Regions from separate parts of the Homo sapiens genome. Here region 2 is linked to region 1. Evidence: promoter capture Hi-C in 16 types of primary human blood cells and fetal thymus (Javierre and others, 2016). All regions are on one chromosome and are shown on one strand. The core of a region is centred on a gene start or on the middle of the fragment in contact, and the rest is flanking DNA. Distances in the headings are between cores, read along the strand shown. Region 1 holds the start of SPON1 (spondin 1). Region 2 holds the start of PTH (parathyroid hormone).

Evidence for each region. The method cuts DNA at HindIII sites, captures the fragments that hold promoters and counts their contacts. A CHiCAGO score of 5 or more calls a contact.
Region 2: the fragment with the promoter of PTH here is called in contact with the fragment with the promoter of SPON1 in region 1 in 1 of 17 cell types (neutrophils); the score reaches 6.1 in neutrophils.

The regions. Positions count from the first base shown.
Region 1 is chr11:13,959,938-13,967,092 of GRCh38, forward strand. It overlaps SPON1 (spondin 1), which reads left to right and starts at 2,786. Exons shown (of 16, transcript NM_006108.4): 1 at 2,786-3,205. The coding sequence starts at 2,968. It overlaps LOC124902637 (a long non-coding RNA gene), which reads left to right and starts at 3,220. Exons shown (of 2, transcript XR_007062602.1): 1 at 3,220-5,108; 2 at 7,104-7,155. RefSeq lists an enhancer at 6,071-6,589. The HindIII fragment of the contact is 7,695 bases long and covers 1,803-7,155 here.
Region 2 is chr11:13,493,134-13,500,288 of GRCh38, forward strand. PTH (parathyroid hormone) reads right to left here and starts at 2,864. Exons shown (of 3, transcript NM_000315.4): 1 at 2,778-2,864. RefSeq lists promoters at 2,797-3,547, 2,809-3,868, 2,861-3,023, an enhancer at 3,238-3,259 and silencers at 6,184-7,155, 6,185-6,285, 7,019-7,136. The HindIII fragment of the contact is 1,846 bases long and covers 1,574-3,419 here.

The DNA.
Region 1 (7,155 bases), core at 1,536-4,035:
CAGCACAGGCAAAGCCCATGAGAGAAGAGCTGCATGGCTGGAGAAGCAGATCAAGCAGAGCCTTGGAGGCCTGGCTGAAGATTCTGTCTTTATTCTGAGAGCCCTGAAAAACCACCAAGAAAAAATGTTAACCTCAGGATTGACATTCAAATCTGCATTTTTAAAAAGATCACTTGGGCTTCAGTGCAGAAGACAGATGGAAGGAGAGCACAAGTAGACAAGGGCAACCCAGTTAGGAAGATGAGAGAGGATGTCAACACAGACAGGGGTAGTGGTGGAGAAGAGCGTGAAACTTGATGTGGTGATGGATCGGATGAGTGGAGAAGACAGCAGAGGTCTGAGTGACAGCCAAGCTGGTTTAGGAAAACCTAGCTCATGTAGTGGGATTGGAGCTTGGTGAGCTGGTTAGAGCCTGCCGTCATAGCCCAGATGATAGGGCGAACACTGTGTACTGGAAAGTACCTCATTTGGTGTTGGGGATGCCTGTTTTAAATCCTGGCTCTTTCCCTTAATAGCCATGGAACATTACCTCAGCAGGTAATTTCATAGGCTCCTAATCTGAACAATGGGAGTGCGGAGGTGAATTGGGACTGCCTACTTCCCATAGTTTTCCTGTCAATATCCAATAAAAAGTTAAATATTGCATTCCTGCCTACTTCATGCCCACCCATCTCCAACTTAGATTTGAACCTTTTGTAGATGAATAGAGGTTCAAGAGCACAGATTTGAGCTTTCAGACATAAAATAAGCTTTGTGAAGACAGGGGTCACAATTTATTCATTTCTGTAGTTTCCTGCCCTCTGAGATAAGATCAGGTACACTTTCAAGAACCACTTATTTTAGTTTGTAGCATACATCACAATTATAATTTTAAAAGATTCATATAATTATGTATTTAATATTTGCCTTTGCCACAGGCCTGTAAAATCCTCAAAGGCAAGTAACATATCTGTGTTTTGTATCCAAGCACTGAGCACGTGGAGGGTCTTTGTCATGAATGAATGGATGGATAGAAGGATGCATGGATGGATGGATGGATGAATTTTTGTTCCGTCTTCTACCTACCGGTCAGCACAGAGTCTAGCTCCAAATCTACACTTAATGAAAGTTTGCTGGATGAATGGGACCGTGCAACTTGGAGTGCAGCATGAGCTCTGAGCCAGTCGAGTGAAGATGCAGACAATTCCCTCAGCACTCAGACATGGATCTGAGCCTCACCTCAAAAAGGAGGGCCGATCAGCTGGATCAGGTGCTGCTAGGGTCAAGAAGGGCTAGGGATGAGAGAAGAGCATAATTGGCTTCAGCAAGGGGTTACTTTCAGGTGACCTCTGAGAGAAGGCGTCCAGTTAATAGTGGCAGTGGGAATTCCAGCACAAGCACTAAGGAGTAAGTGGGCAGGCAGGGAGGAATGGAGATCTCCCATGCACCTAGCGCCCTGGGCCTGTTTGTAGCATTATGAAAGAGAAAACCCTGACCTGGAAAGCAAAGGAGATTGCTTGCTAATTGTAGGCACTTGAGGTGTGTCGAAGGCCCTGGGCAAAGAGAAGACGAGGAAACCAAAGCTTCTGAGGGCACCTGGGGAGGGATGTTTGTGTGCACTGAGAGGCAGGGGGCTTATGGTATCCCCAAGCGGGTGAGGGAGCAGGCGCCACTAGAGACCAACTAGAGTGTTTTATATGGGTCATATCATTTACTTCTAGCATATCACCCCACTACCTCTAAGAAGGATGTACTGGCACCCACCCCCACTTCCTTGTTCTCCAGAGCAGGAAACAAGCTTGGAGAGTGCGATAACTAGCCCAAGCTTCACAATGGGTGAGTGGCAGGACTGAGGTTTGATTCGGGTCTCTTCCCAGAGAGACACTGGGAGAGATTCTTGCCCCAGGTCTTTTCCCTTCAGGCCCTCAGGCTCAGCACCTCTCTGAACATCTGTCCCTGGGGAGTGAGAATCTGAACTAAAATGTAAGCCAAGAAAACACAGGCTCTTCATTGAATCTTTGGAAACTCCTTTCCTGGGCTGTAGGAGGACCTTCCTGAGCCTTAGGCACTTTTGCCTTTGCTGGCTCTTTCCTCCAAGTCAAGCATATTTTATGACTGTGGAGGTATAAATACAAATATATTAACATTATATAGTAAAACATTTTGTTTGACATAAATTTTTTCTTCTGATTTTTACAGAAAACATTTTCATAGATCTCCAAAAGTATCGTGGGCCCTAAGCGCTGTAGCTAAGTCGTTTCTCCTTTCTCAGCCTCCAGTCTGACATGTTCCACTATGGCCTTGGGAAGAGCAATGGGCCCGGAGTCGCCGCATCTAACCCTGCTGTAACTGGTCGCAAGTCACAGTTTGCTCATCTATAAAGTGAGCGAAAGTAATGTAATCTTTATTGGGAGTAGGGAACATGAAGGCGAGTCGATACAGTAAGTAAGCCGCCAAGCATATTGCTAGGCACAGAGCAGGTGTGCAACAAAAGTTATTTCTCAGGCTTTCCCTCCTCTGAGCGCCGTCCTCCAGAGGGTCCGGAGTGTAGCTGGGGGTTGGAGCAGCAGCCTCCTAGGCGATGGGACAGAGCCCACAGGGTCCGGTATGCCACGGTTTCTTCGTCAGACCCTGGGAATCCAACGTCGCAAAATAAACACGGCCGCGCCGCTAATCGCCAGTTCGGAGGAAACAAAACAGCGCTGCGCTGGGGGATCTGGGCAAAATCAGCCCTCCCTCCTCCCGCTCCTTCGCCGCGGCCCTCCCCTCCTCGCGCTGCTCTCGTTCGCTTGGCTCAGCTCAGCTCAGCTCAGCGCAGCTCCGCGGCCGCCAAGCCGAGGCGGGCACGGTCTCCGAGTCGCGGACGCCAGCTCCGAGCTCCCTCTCTCCGCCGCGCCTCCGCCAGGTCGCGCCTTCGTCGGGACCACTTCGGGCAGGAGTCGCGTGGCGAAGGCCTGCGGCCGCGGCACAAAGTTGGGGGCCGCGAAGATGAGGCTGTCCCCGGCGCCCCTGAAGCTGAGCCGGACTCCGGCACTGCTGGCCCTGGCGCTGCCCCTGGCCGCGGCGCTGGCCTTCTCCGACGAGACCCTGGACAAAGTGCCCAAGTCAGAGGGCTACTGCAGCCGTATCCTGCGCGCCCAGGGCACGCGGCGCGAGGGCTACACCGAGTTCAGCCTCCGCGTGGAGGGCGACCCCGACTTCTACAAGCCGGGAACCAGCTACCGCGGTAAGTGGCCGCCCGGCGTGGCATTAGGAGAGCGGGACCCGGTCCCCGGAGGGCGCCGACCTCGCGGTGCCGGAGGAGGGCGCGCGGTCTCCGGGCGCGTGGCGCGGGTGCAGCCCGGCAAGGGCCCTTCTGTCCTGGCTGCCCTCGGCCCTTGCAGTCGCGAGCTCGGCGCGGATCATAATCCAGCGTCCCGGGCCGTCGCGGGGGCCGCAGCCAGGAGAGGCACCCCGCGTTTCCGACGCGCGGTTCCCAGGCGGAGGATGTAACTGAGCCACACGTCACGCCGGCCTGACTGCAAGGGAGGCTCGCTTCTCCCCCGGCCGTCTGCAGGAGGGAAGTAAAACTGCCTTTCTCCAAATCGGTCTGGAGGGGACCCAGGCTTCTCTTGGTCGGGTCCCGGGCAAGGCAGCCACTCCAGCTTTCCCCGCTCAGTCCCTGAAGGAGAGGGTACCCGATTCTCAAAGACTGGCCCTGGGCGGGACAGCCACTCCGGCTTCCCTGGATAGGTCCCTTCAGGAGAAGGGACTTTGGCTTCTCCCTAACCGGTCCCGGGGTGCGGGAAGGAGGGGCAGGGACAGCCTAAAGCTCCTCGAAAGGGTCCTTGGAAAGAACCCCAAATTATTCTCTCGTGGTCCCAGACGAGATAGAGTATCTTGGGTTTCCAGAACAGGTTCCCAGTGGGGACAGGGTCCTCAAAGAGCTTGGGGTAAGCTCCGAGCTGCAAGGGGAATTGGATGAAGATGGAAAGAGAAGCCCCGATGCCCGAGGCCTGCTCCCTGGAGGCCGGGGAACCTTGGCTCCGGCAGCTCGGAGTCTCCACGTCCCAGGGATGTCGCGCCTACGCCGCTCGGCTGAGAGTGGGGTTTCGGGAGCTCAGGGAGGAGGTGTCCAAGCAGGTGAGAGCCTCCTAGGCGGGACAGGCAGTTCGACCAGCACCGATCTGAAGACGCCTGACTCTGTCCCCACGCCCGCCACCTCGCTCCTCAGCAGGGTCATCTCCCCAGACATCGTTTCCCCGTGCAGCAGCAGCCGCTCTCCGGGTGGGGGACAGGTAACCAGGAAGGGAAGCGAGCCTGTCTGGCCTCACCTTAGCTCCCGCCAGGGAGCGTGTCCTCTCACCCTCGCCCCTTCATAAGTCAGCTCTGGTGCTAAGCAGGGATGAGCGGGTCACTGGGGCACCTGGTGGGGCAAATGGGCTCCCAGCTGCTGTACTTTCCTCCTCGCCTTCCCAGTTCCCCAGAGAGCCTTGGACGGAAGCGGTGGGAGCAACACAGGAGAAAGTCTGGGGCAGCGTCAGCGGGCGCCAGGGTCACGCCGGAGACCAAAGCCAGGGGCCACCCTTCTTGGAGCGCTTTTCCCCCTTTCCCGGGTTTGTGTCCCCGACTTTCTCCACCCGGAGCTACCCAAAGCCGGCTCCTTGGTGCCCTTGGCACCTTGGCGTGCTGAGCACTTTGCGAGGAACAGTCTGACCCCGGCGCGCAGCTCCGCGGGATCCTGGGTACTCCACGAAGAAAGATTCTGGGCGGAGAACACCCCGCCCAGCCCGGGAGGGAGCGCGCGGCTTGGCACCGCGGCTAGAGCGAGCCGCGCCGACGGGCGGCGACTGCCACTCGGTGCAGCCGGGAGGCGGCCGATCCTCCCTGTGGACCGCAGGGAAGCGGGTATGACTTCAGTGGCCTATTCGGCCCTCCCCAAAACTGAGGACCTGAGTTCACAGGGGAAACTGTCCCCGCTCCACGTAGCAGAGAAAGAAGTGGCTCTGGAGTCCAACAGACTTGGGTTTACTCGCTGTGTGACCTTGTGCAAGTCATTTAATTTCTCTGCACCTATTTCCTAGCTGGAAAAAAAAAAAAGCTGTTTATCCACCCTCTCTTGGTGGTAGGGAGTAAATGAGTTTACAAAGGTGAGTGTGCCTGAGCTAAAAGAGATTCCTAATAAGCCTAACAGTTGAATGTGAGGCCTTTATTGGTTTACTAATGGAGGTAGGTTCTTGATCAGATTTTTGTTTTTGAAGAGTGTTGTGCGTTTGAAAGCAGGTTTCCTCAGCTCTCCTCCAGTCCCATTCATCTACCAGTGGTTATTTGGGTCCTCATGAATTAATTGAATGAATGAATGAGGTATTTTTTCATATCAGGAGCCTTGCCTAAGACTGTTGCTAATGCAAGCCCAGGAAGATTTTTTCAGTGACTTAGACTAGTCTGAGGTTCAGGCCAAGTGTACCCAGCGTCTCTTTTCACACTAATCCTCCGTGTTTTAGTTGAGCATTGGCAGCTGGTGGCCCTAGCACTGGGAAGGAGATACAGCTGGTATTCACGGGGCCAAAGAGGTTTCAGAACTACCTAAACGTCCAGGGCCAGCAGGTGGGGAACTGGGACTGGATAGGGAGTGTCCTGGACTTTCACCCTACAGGCTACTCCTGCCTAAACAGCCATCTGGACTTTGACACCCCAACTCAGGCTATAGATTGGGCAATCATCTTTTCTCCCTTCTTATGGCTAAAAGACCTTGGAAGAGATCTTGCAGGAACCATGCTGAGGTTTTCCAAGTAAATATCCTGCAATTAGCAAACCTGATTCTGCCACTCAAAGTCCGAAAGAAAAGGTACTGGCCTAGTTTGTGACATTTTCTGTTGGCTCCTTCTTTCTTAGAATAATTATGTTAAAAGTAACTCAAACACATTCTGCTCATTGTCCTGACTTAAGGCTGTGAAGCTGGCATTCCCCTGGTGTTCTATTTGCTTTTTAATTTTTTCATGAATTAGGATTCCTCACAATCCTTGGAATCAATGACTTGTTTTCCTGCCTCAAATCTTTGTCCACAGTATTCCAGTTCATCCCCAAGCAGCTTCTGTTCTTTGTGCCTGCTGTCTAAGTACAGTCTTTAGGTACTCTAGACCGGAATAAAATGGTCACTATTAAAAAAGACTGAAACATGGAGTTTCTTCCCCAAAACCTGAATCCAGTTGAGATCATTATTTTGTCTTTTCCAAGTTGTTAGTATTATATTGATTTCCTTTTCTTTCCCACCACTTCTCTCTACTCTCCCTCCCTCTTCCCACAGTCCCCCCTCCCTCCAACGGCAATAATTGTGCTTTAGAAAGCTCTGAAAGGCCTGCTCTGTTTCTGGCCAGGGCCTCCTTTGAAAAGGAGATTACAGTGATTAAAAATAACAAGTTGAGGATCCTCAAGGGGCTTCCCTTATACAGGAGGACAATTCGCAGGACCAGCCTTTCCCAGATCACAATTTCAAGCCAAACAGAAGAAAATCCACTGAAATATTCAAGAATTGATTGAAAATAAAAGAGGCTCTTTTGTCTTACTGGAGGTCTGTTTATTAGGAAAATAAAGTCAGACTCTGGCTAATGAGAGTGGCTTTTCCTAGATGTATTTTAAAGAGACATTTCAAGGAACTTGATGGGAAAAGAATGTCCAGTAGAGGTTTCAAAAGCTGGTCCAACTTCAAGCATAATTGAGGGGTTTATCCTAAACTGGGAGGTTTGGAGACCTCCAAAGCTGCATGGTTTTTCCTTTGTCCCACACTGAGACACACACTGACCACAGGGGTGGACACCTCAGCCTGGTGGAAAGCGCACAGGCTTTGATGTTGGGTGGGTTGGTTTCAGGTCCTCCTTGGTCACATATTCACTGTGTGATCTCAGGAAGCCACTTCACCTCTCTGAGCCAATTTCTCCATCTGTAAAATGAGGGTGTTTTGATTTTTTCCCAGCATTCCTGTGAGAATTAGAAATAATTCATGTCAAAAGAAATTGTCACACAGTGGTTGCTAAAAAAATATGTTATGAGATGATTATTTTGGAAATAGAAAAATACTTAGCAGCAAAGCCCTGGATAAGATATTGTGTTAAGTTCTTCCGACTCATCTCACTTATTCCTTACAGTACTTTGAGGAAGTTTCTGATCGTTACTGTTTTATGGATGAGAAGACTAAAC
Region 2 (7,155 bases), core at 1,614-4,113, 470 kb before region 1:
TTTTTTATTGTTTTCTAAATCTATTTGTACACTTAATATGCTAGTATTAATTTCACAAACAGTATAAAGAATGTACTCCAATGATATTAAGCGGCAACTACTCACCTGAAAAAGAAAACATTGTCTCTGAAATAATTCCTAATTATACAATTTTGCAAACTAATAAGCACTATAAATATTAAAATGTTAAGACTTCAATGTATAATGTCAATAACATCCTGCCTTTTTAAAATTGCTTAAAACATTTGTTAAAGATCATGCAAAATAAACACTGTATTAAAATGCTAGATTACACTCAAACATCAAGGCAATGAAACACAAAAGAGCAACTATTTAGCACAATGACTGGCCAAGTAAATAACTTAATCAGCATATTAATAAAAATCCACTGAGTGATAAACATCAAAAATGTAACACTGAATCTAGATAATCACGCATCTGCGATCTCACCATCTACCGTCCTAACTGTGACTTGGGGTAAACTGCCAGAATTCATTCTGCATAAATGAGCTATGTTAAAATGTTAGCAACATTTCATTGCATGATGACAGAGTACATTTCTAGTCCACACAGTACTTCAACGTGATCATTCTCTTAACTCAGCTAATAACTAATGGAAAGTACAGTTTTACAGTCATACCACTTATGTATATACATATATTTTACCCTTGCTTTGTTACATGTTTTTAAATTTTTTTTAAAAAAGTATTTCCTTTCTTATGATCCTCCCCCAGAATTAACATGCTGACTTAGGAAAAGACGAAGTAGATAAAGTCTATCCTAGTATAGAGAGCAATGGTTTACTTTTACCTAATTAAATATTTCCTTGTCATTTATCAATTGTCACTGACCTTTTTTATGTAATTATTTCCTCATTCACTCATCTATAAATATTTATTAGTGCCTGTTGTTACCCATGTCTCCTTGATTTTCCAGAAAAATAATTCATGTTTTTTTTTTCTTCTCATTGCTAAGCTCACTTAGAAAAATTAGGCACCATTTAAAAGACTTGGAGAACAGACCAGCGTGGCTTCTTGGGCACAGCTGGATGGTGCTGGAAGCCAGGCCTGGGATTTGGAGAGAAGAGTCTCCAACAGATAAACCCACGGAGGTCACCAGCCCTCCCTGCATCTACTCTCCTAACAGCTCAGGATGGCCCTGTTACACTACTGCCAGCCCTGGTGACTCGCTTTCTTAGCAATTTTTAAAGCCCTCTTCATTATGTACTTCCTACTTAAAATTCAGAACCTCTGTGATAAGCAATGCCTCTGTCATACAGAATGCTGGATCTCAGTTTACTGAGCCTCTCCCTGTAGTGTCACAGGCTGTGCACTCACCTAGATGAGCCCCTAAGAGCAGGGTTTGCTTCTGCTTCATCTAATGCCACATCTTCCCTCAAATGTGTGGTCACCAAATGTTCTGCAAAAAGGGTCTCTAGCTTTTTACTTTTCTTTTTGGCAAATTAAGCCCTTTAAAATACTTCTGACCTATCTTTATACTCAGATCTCACCTCATCTCAAGTTTTATGGGGTAATGCGCCAGTGAAAGGTACAGTGGTATTAGTGAGTTCTGAAGCTTCTAATTACATAGACAATAGAGGCTGGCTGGTGAGCCATGCTTCTCATGCTCCCTTCTGTCACACTGCAGAAATCTTAAGCTACAAGAGGAATGAAAGAGCCTATTTTTGAGAAATCCCCCCGCACTGCATTTTATGTTGATTATACCTAAATGTTTATAACTTGCTTGAAAATGCCTAATTTTCTTCATAGTGTAAATTGTTAACACTATTTACGTAGCAAATCCTTTTCTTAAGTAACCTTCATTTCAGGCATTGTAATAACCATAAATACCAAACTAATAGGTGCTAATCTAGAGATTTTCACTAAATTAATTCACATTTCTCCTAGCATTAAAAATAATGTGTCAAAGCATTTAAAAATCATCTGATTAATTACTTGTGATATGGATTTCGAGCTTTATCTCTGAATGGAATGCTTGTTTGTAGCTTATTTCTTCAACTTATTTTATTAACAATTATCTTTTAATATAACTTTTGTCTCTTTCCTCGTTTCACATCAGTATAGGATATTCTTGCCTTAATCTGCATTTCAGTACTTGCAAAGGCTGTTATTATAGAAGTGCTTTTCCTTAATGCTCAGTGTACTACCTTTTAACATACACATAGAGTAGTTATGTACTCCTATTTTACAGGGAAACTGCATCATTTAGAAATAGCATAGGAAATACTGTTTTCAGAATACAGCTGTCATTTATGTAAAGGAAATAAATATTTACTAGTCAAACTGGGCTTATCCAACTTTAGTATACAGATTGGGCTCTTTATGAGCCATAAAATAAATAATCTAGATAAGAATACTCTGCAGGAAAAACAGAATATTAACTCCACTTAATAAATTTATAAAGATTATTTAAATCAGAACTATTCATTCACCATCAACCTGTTTTATTTCAAAATTTTGACACCGATACTATTATATTAAAGCATAGCATGCCAAATTTTAATGATTTTTTGTTGTAATTTCAGATGAGGTTTTAAAAGGCAAGGTATCTCAGAAGACTTTAATCAAAAAGGATTTTGTGATTTGAGTAGCATTAATTTATTTTGTATGTGGCATTTTATATTAAACATAACTCAAACTTCTTAGCATTTTACCTTGAAGAAACAACATGGTATTTGTAGAAATGGTACACATTAAATAATAACTTGATTATCAAAATCTCATGAGATTCAGAAGTGAATTTTTAAGTTTACTTACCATACAATGTCTTAGAACAAGATCTTCGTTCAGGTATGTTAGTAGCTGATGCTGAGTAAACTAAAGACAACTGATGAATTGGACTGCAGACCCCTTAAATGGTGACTTTTATATATAGGTCTTCTGCTTACCAAGAGAGGCTCTTTTATTGTTACAGATGATGTCACTCCCAATTCTCTGGATCTCAACTATAGGTTCAAAGCAGCACATACACACACCCATTGGGCGGTGCACACTCTTCTTAAGTTTCAGATAATTGGATACTAAAAGGAAAACAGCATTTGGCTTGACAAGGGGCTTATGCAAAGACTTTTAACAAATACAGAATTATACCATCGAGAAAAATTCTATGTGGATTAATGAATCTGAATTTATACTGTAAAAAGACTGATTTCAAAGGTTTATGATAAAGTCATTATCTTACTTGAAAATAAAACCCAAAAATAAGTGTATTTGTTATAACCGTACTGTTGGTACAGTTTTTATGGTAATAAATCATAAATGTTAGGCTTACTTTACAAGCCATTTTCAACCAATCCATGTCACTTCTGGTCATCTTTCAAAAAACAGATATAGCCCTTTTCTTAAAGGAAGTGTTAAGAATAATTTGAGAAAATGCTCTTAGTACATAATTACTTTAAAAGCTTCAAAAGTGAAATTATTTTAAAATTTATTTAACTTATATTTTATTTGTGCATCTTAATCTATAATAATAACATTTGATAAGCACTAACTGCATGCCTAACTACATATATTATCCCACTAGATCTTCACAGCAGTCCTTTAAAGTTAGTACTTAAAGTACTAAAGTTAAGTGCTTATCCCCATTTTTACATGAGGAAACTTAGGCTTGGAAAGCAGAAAAGATGGAATTCAACAAAGGTCTTTATGACACCAGATTCTTACTACCTCAGTTTCTGCCTAGAAATACAGCCCTTCTTTGAACTCCAGTCTTCTTGACTTTAATTTGCAAAGTCATCTGAAAACACAGCAAAAGCTCTTTGCAACATTTTCCCCTAGGGGTTAGGTCTTTATTCTCATGTTCCCTAAGGGATGATGAGAGCCTGCTCCAAAACCTATTGGAGGCATGATGCTGCCACATGTCTGACTTCAAATATTCCTCCAGCAATATTTTCCTGGTCCACCTGTCAAAACACCCTGAATGTCTTTGATATATCTAGGACTCCTTTAGACAGCTTTGCCTTCCCACCAAAGATCCGGTGCCAGAGTGGGATCAGTTCTCTCAGCTCTGGTCCCATCCTGGCTTCATGTCATCCTTTTTCCTACTAGCCATTGTCAAGGTTTGACTCTACCTTAGGTAAGAGCCAGTACAAATTTGAATAGTAACCGTATGGAGTTTATAATGAGAGATATATACTAGTCCTGTCCTAGGAGATTCTCCACTCTGGGTTAACCTCACTTAGAGTGTTGCTCCAGGCTCCATTTTAGAAGCAGTAGAAACAAATGGGAACATACACTGAGGATATCAATCAGTTTGGTGAAAATGTTGAAAACTATAACATGAGAAGTAGTTGAATGAAACTAGAAAAGTCTGAGGAAAAAAAGACGGGATGACTTTATAGCTGTGTTTAATTATTTATAGGGTTACCATAAGGAAGAAGGAGTATTCTCTGTGGTTTAAGAAGGAAGGGCTGGGTTCATTGGGTTTAACTTGGACATTATAATTGTCAAAATAAGGAATCAAGTACCTTCTCAAATAGTGATTTCTCCATCACTGAGAATATTCAAGTAGAAGGTAGATGAGCATTTATCAGGCATACTATAGAGATTCATACATAGAAGAAAGTTGAACTAGATAACCAAGAGGTCTCTTTTAACTGTAAAAATCTGTTGTCTTGATCTTTTTAAAGACCTCTTCTGATGCAAACTCTACATGTGATGTTTGTGTGTCATTTTTCTGCTATACTCTGTTGAGAAGAAGAATTGGAAATACAGATGGTTTTTCTTTTTTCTTTGAGATAGGATCTCACTCTGTCACTCAGACTGGAGTGGTGCAGTGGTATGGACATGGCAGCCTCAACTTTCGGGGCTCAAGCAGTCCTTCCACCTCAGCCTTCTGAGTAGTGGGGGCTATAGGCACACAGCACCACAACCAGCTAATTTTTAAATTTTTGTGGAGGCAGAGTGTAGCTAAATTGCCCAGGCTGTCCTTGGCTCAAGCAGTCCTCCCACCTCTCGCTCCCAAAGTGCTGGGATTACAGGCATGAGCCACCACACCCAGCCACTAATGGATTTTTATTTTTTAACTTTTAAGTTCAGGGGTACATGTACAGGCCTGTTATATAGGTAAACTCATGTCGTGGAGGTTTATTGTACTAATTATATCATGACCCAGGTATTAAGCCTAGTGCCCATTAGTTATTTTTCCTGATCCTCCGCCTCCTTCCACTCTCCATCCTTCAGTAAGCCCCAGTGTGTGTGGTTCCCTTCTTTGTGTCCATGTGTTCTCATCTTTTAGCTCCCAATTATAAGTGAGACCATGAGATATTTGGTTTTCTGTTCCTATGTTAGTTTGCTAAGGATAGTGGCCTCTAGCTCCATCTTGTTCTTTTTTATGGCTGCCTAGTATTCCATGGTATGTAGGCACCACGTATTCTTTATCCAGTCTACCACTGTTGGGCATTTAGGTTGATTGCATGTCTTTGCTATTGTGAATAGTGCTATAATGAACATACGCATGCATATGTCTTTATTATAGAATGATTTATATTCCTTTGAGTATATACCCAGTAATGGGATTGCTGGATCAAATTGTAGTTTTGCTTTTAGTCTTTGAGGGATCGCCACACTGTTTTCCACAATTGTTGAACTAATTTACACTCCCACTAACAGTGTATAAATGTTCCTTTTTCTCCACAACCTCACCCATACCTGTTATTTTTTGGCTTTTTGATAACAGCCATTCTGACTGGTGTGAGATGGTGGCTCGTTATGGTTTTGATTTGCATTTCTCTGATGATCAGTGATGTTGAGCTTTTTTCCATACGCTTGTTGGCCACATGTATGTCTTATTTTGAAAAATGTCTGTTCATGTCCTTTACCCACTTTTTAATGGGGTTGTTTGTTTCTTGTAAATTTGTTTAATTTATAGATGTTGGATATTAGGCCTTTGTCAGATGCATAGTTTGCAAAAATTTTCTCCCATTCTGTAGGTTGTCTCTTTACTCTGTTGATAGTTTCTTTTGCTGTGCAGAAGCTCTTTAGTTTAATTATATCTCATTTGTTAATTTTTGCTTTCATTGCCATTGCTTTTGGCATCTTCTTCATGAAATCTTTGCTCATTCCTATGTCTATAACAGTATTGCCAATGTTGTCTTCCAGGGTTTTTATAGTTTCGGATCTTTAATCCATCTTGAGTTAATTTTTGTATATAGTGTAAGGAACAGGTCCAGTTTCAATCTTCTGCATACACAAATGGTTTTATAAACACATTTTTTGCATTGTTATTATAAAGCCATGCTTAATATTCTGATTTGGAGATTTTTCCCGCTTTGGGTAAGTTTAATGTAATTGACAGCCTTCTAGGAGTGATGCAATTATCACTTTCTTGTTCTTCTTTCTCTTACACTTATTTATAGAATAAATTGTCATACCAAGGCAACCACATTATTAAACTAGTTTTACAGAAAAATAAAGCAAATAGTTCAGACAGTGGTCACTCATTTGTTCACTCAAAAAAATGCGTTGAATACTATCTGCCAGGGGCTGTATTAATCACTGGATAATTGAGACATAATCAATGCCTTGAAATTTAACACATAATTATAATATAATGTGATAGGTATTATAATAGGGGTATGAACAAAGACTTATAAAAGCACAGAAGAGGAAGTGACAATTTCCCTAAAGTTGTTGGAAGCTGTTTTACTGAAAAGCTGAACTGTCCTGACAGGTGATTGTGTTTTCCATCAGAGAAGGTAAGAAAGGACAGAGGGAACTGCATGCGCACAGGCATGCAGGCAATGAAGACTGAATAGACGCAGTGGCTCACACTTGTAATCTCAGCACTTTGGGAGGCCAAGGCAAGGGGATTGCTTGAGTTTAGGAGTTTGAGACCAGCCTGGGCAACATAGCAAGACCTCATCTCTCCTAAAAGTTAAAAAAAAAATCAGCAGGATGTGGTGGTGCACACCTGTAGTCTCAGATACTCAGGAGGCTGAGATGGGAGGATCACCCAAACCTGGAAGATGGAGGCTGCAGTGAACTCTGATCATGCCACTGTACTCCAGCCTGGGCGACAGAGTGAGACCCTGTCTCAAAAAAAAAAAAAAAAAAAGACTGAATATTGAGTATATGCTTGTGGATGGAGAGGGAAAATGGGGAAATGGATGATGACTCCAAAGAAGTAAGATTTGGG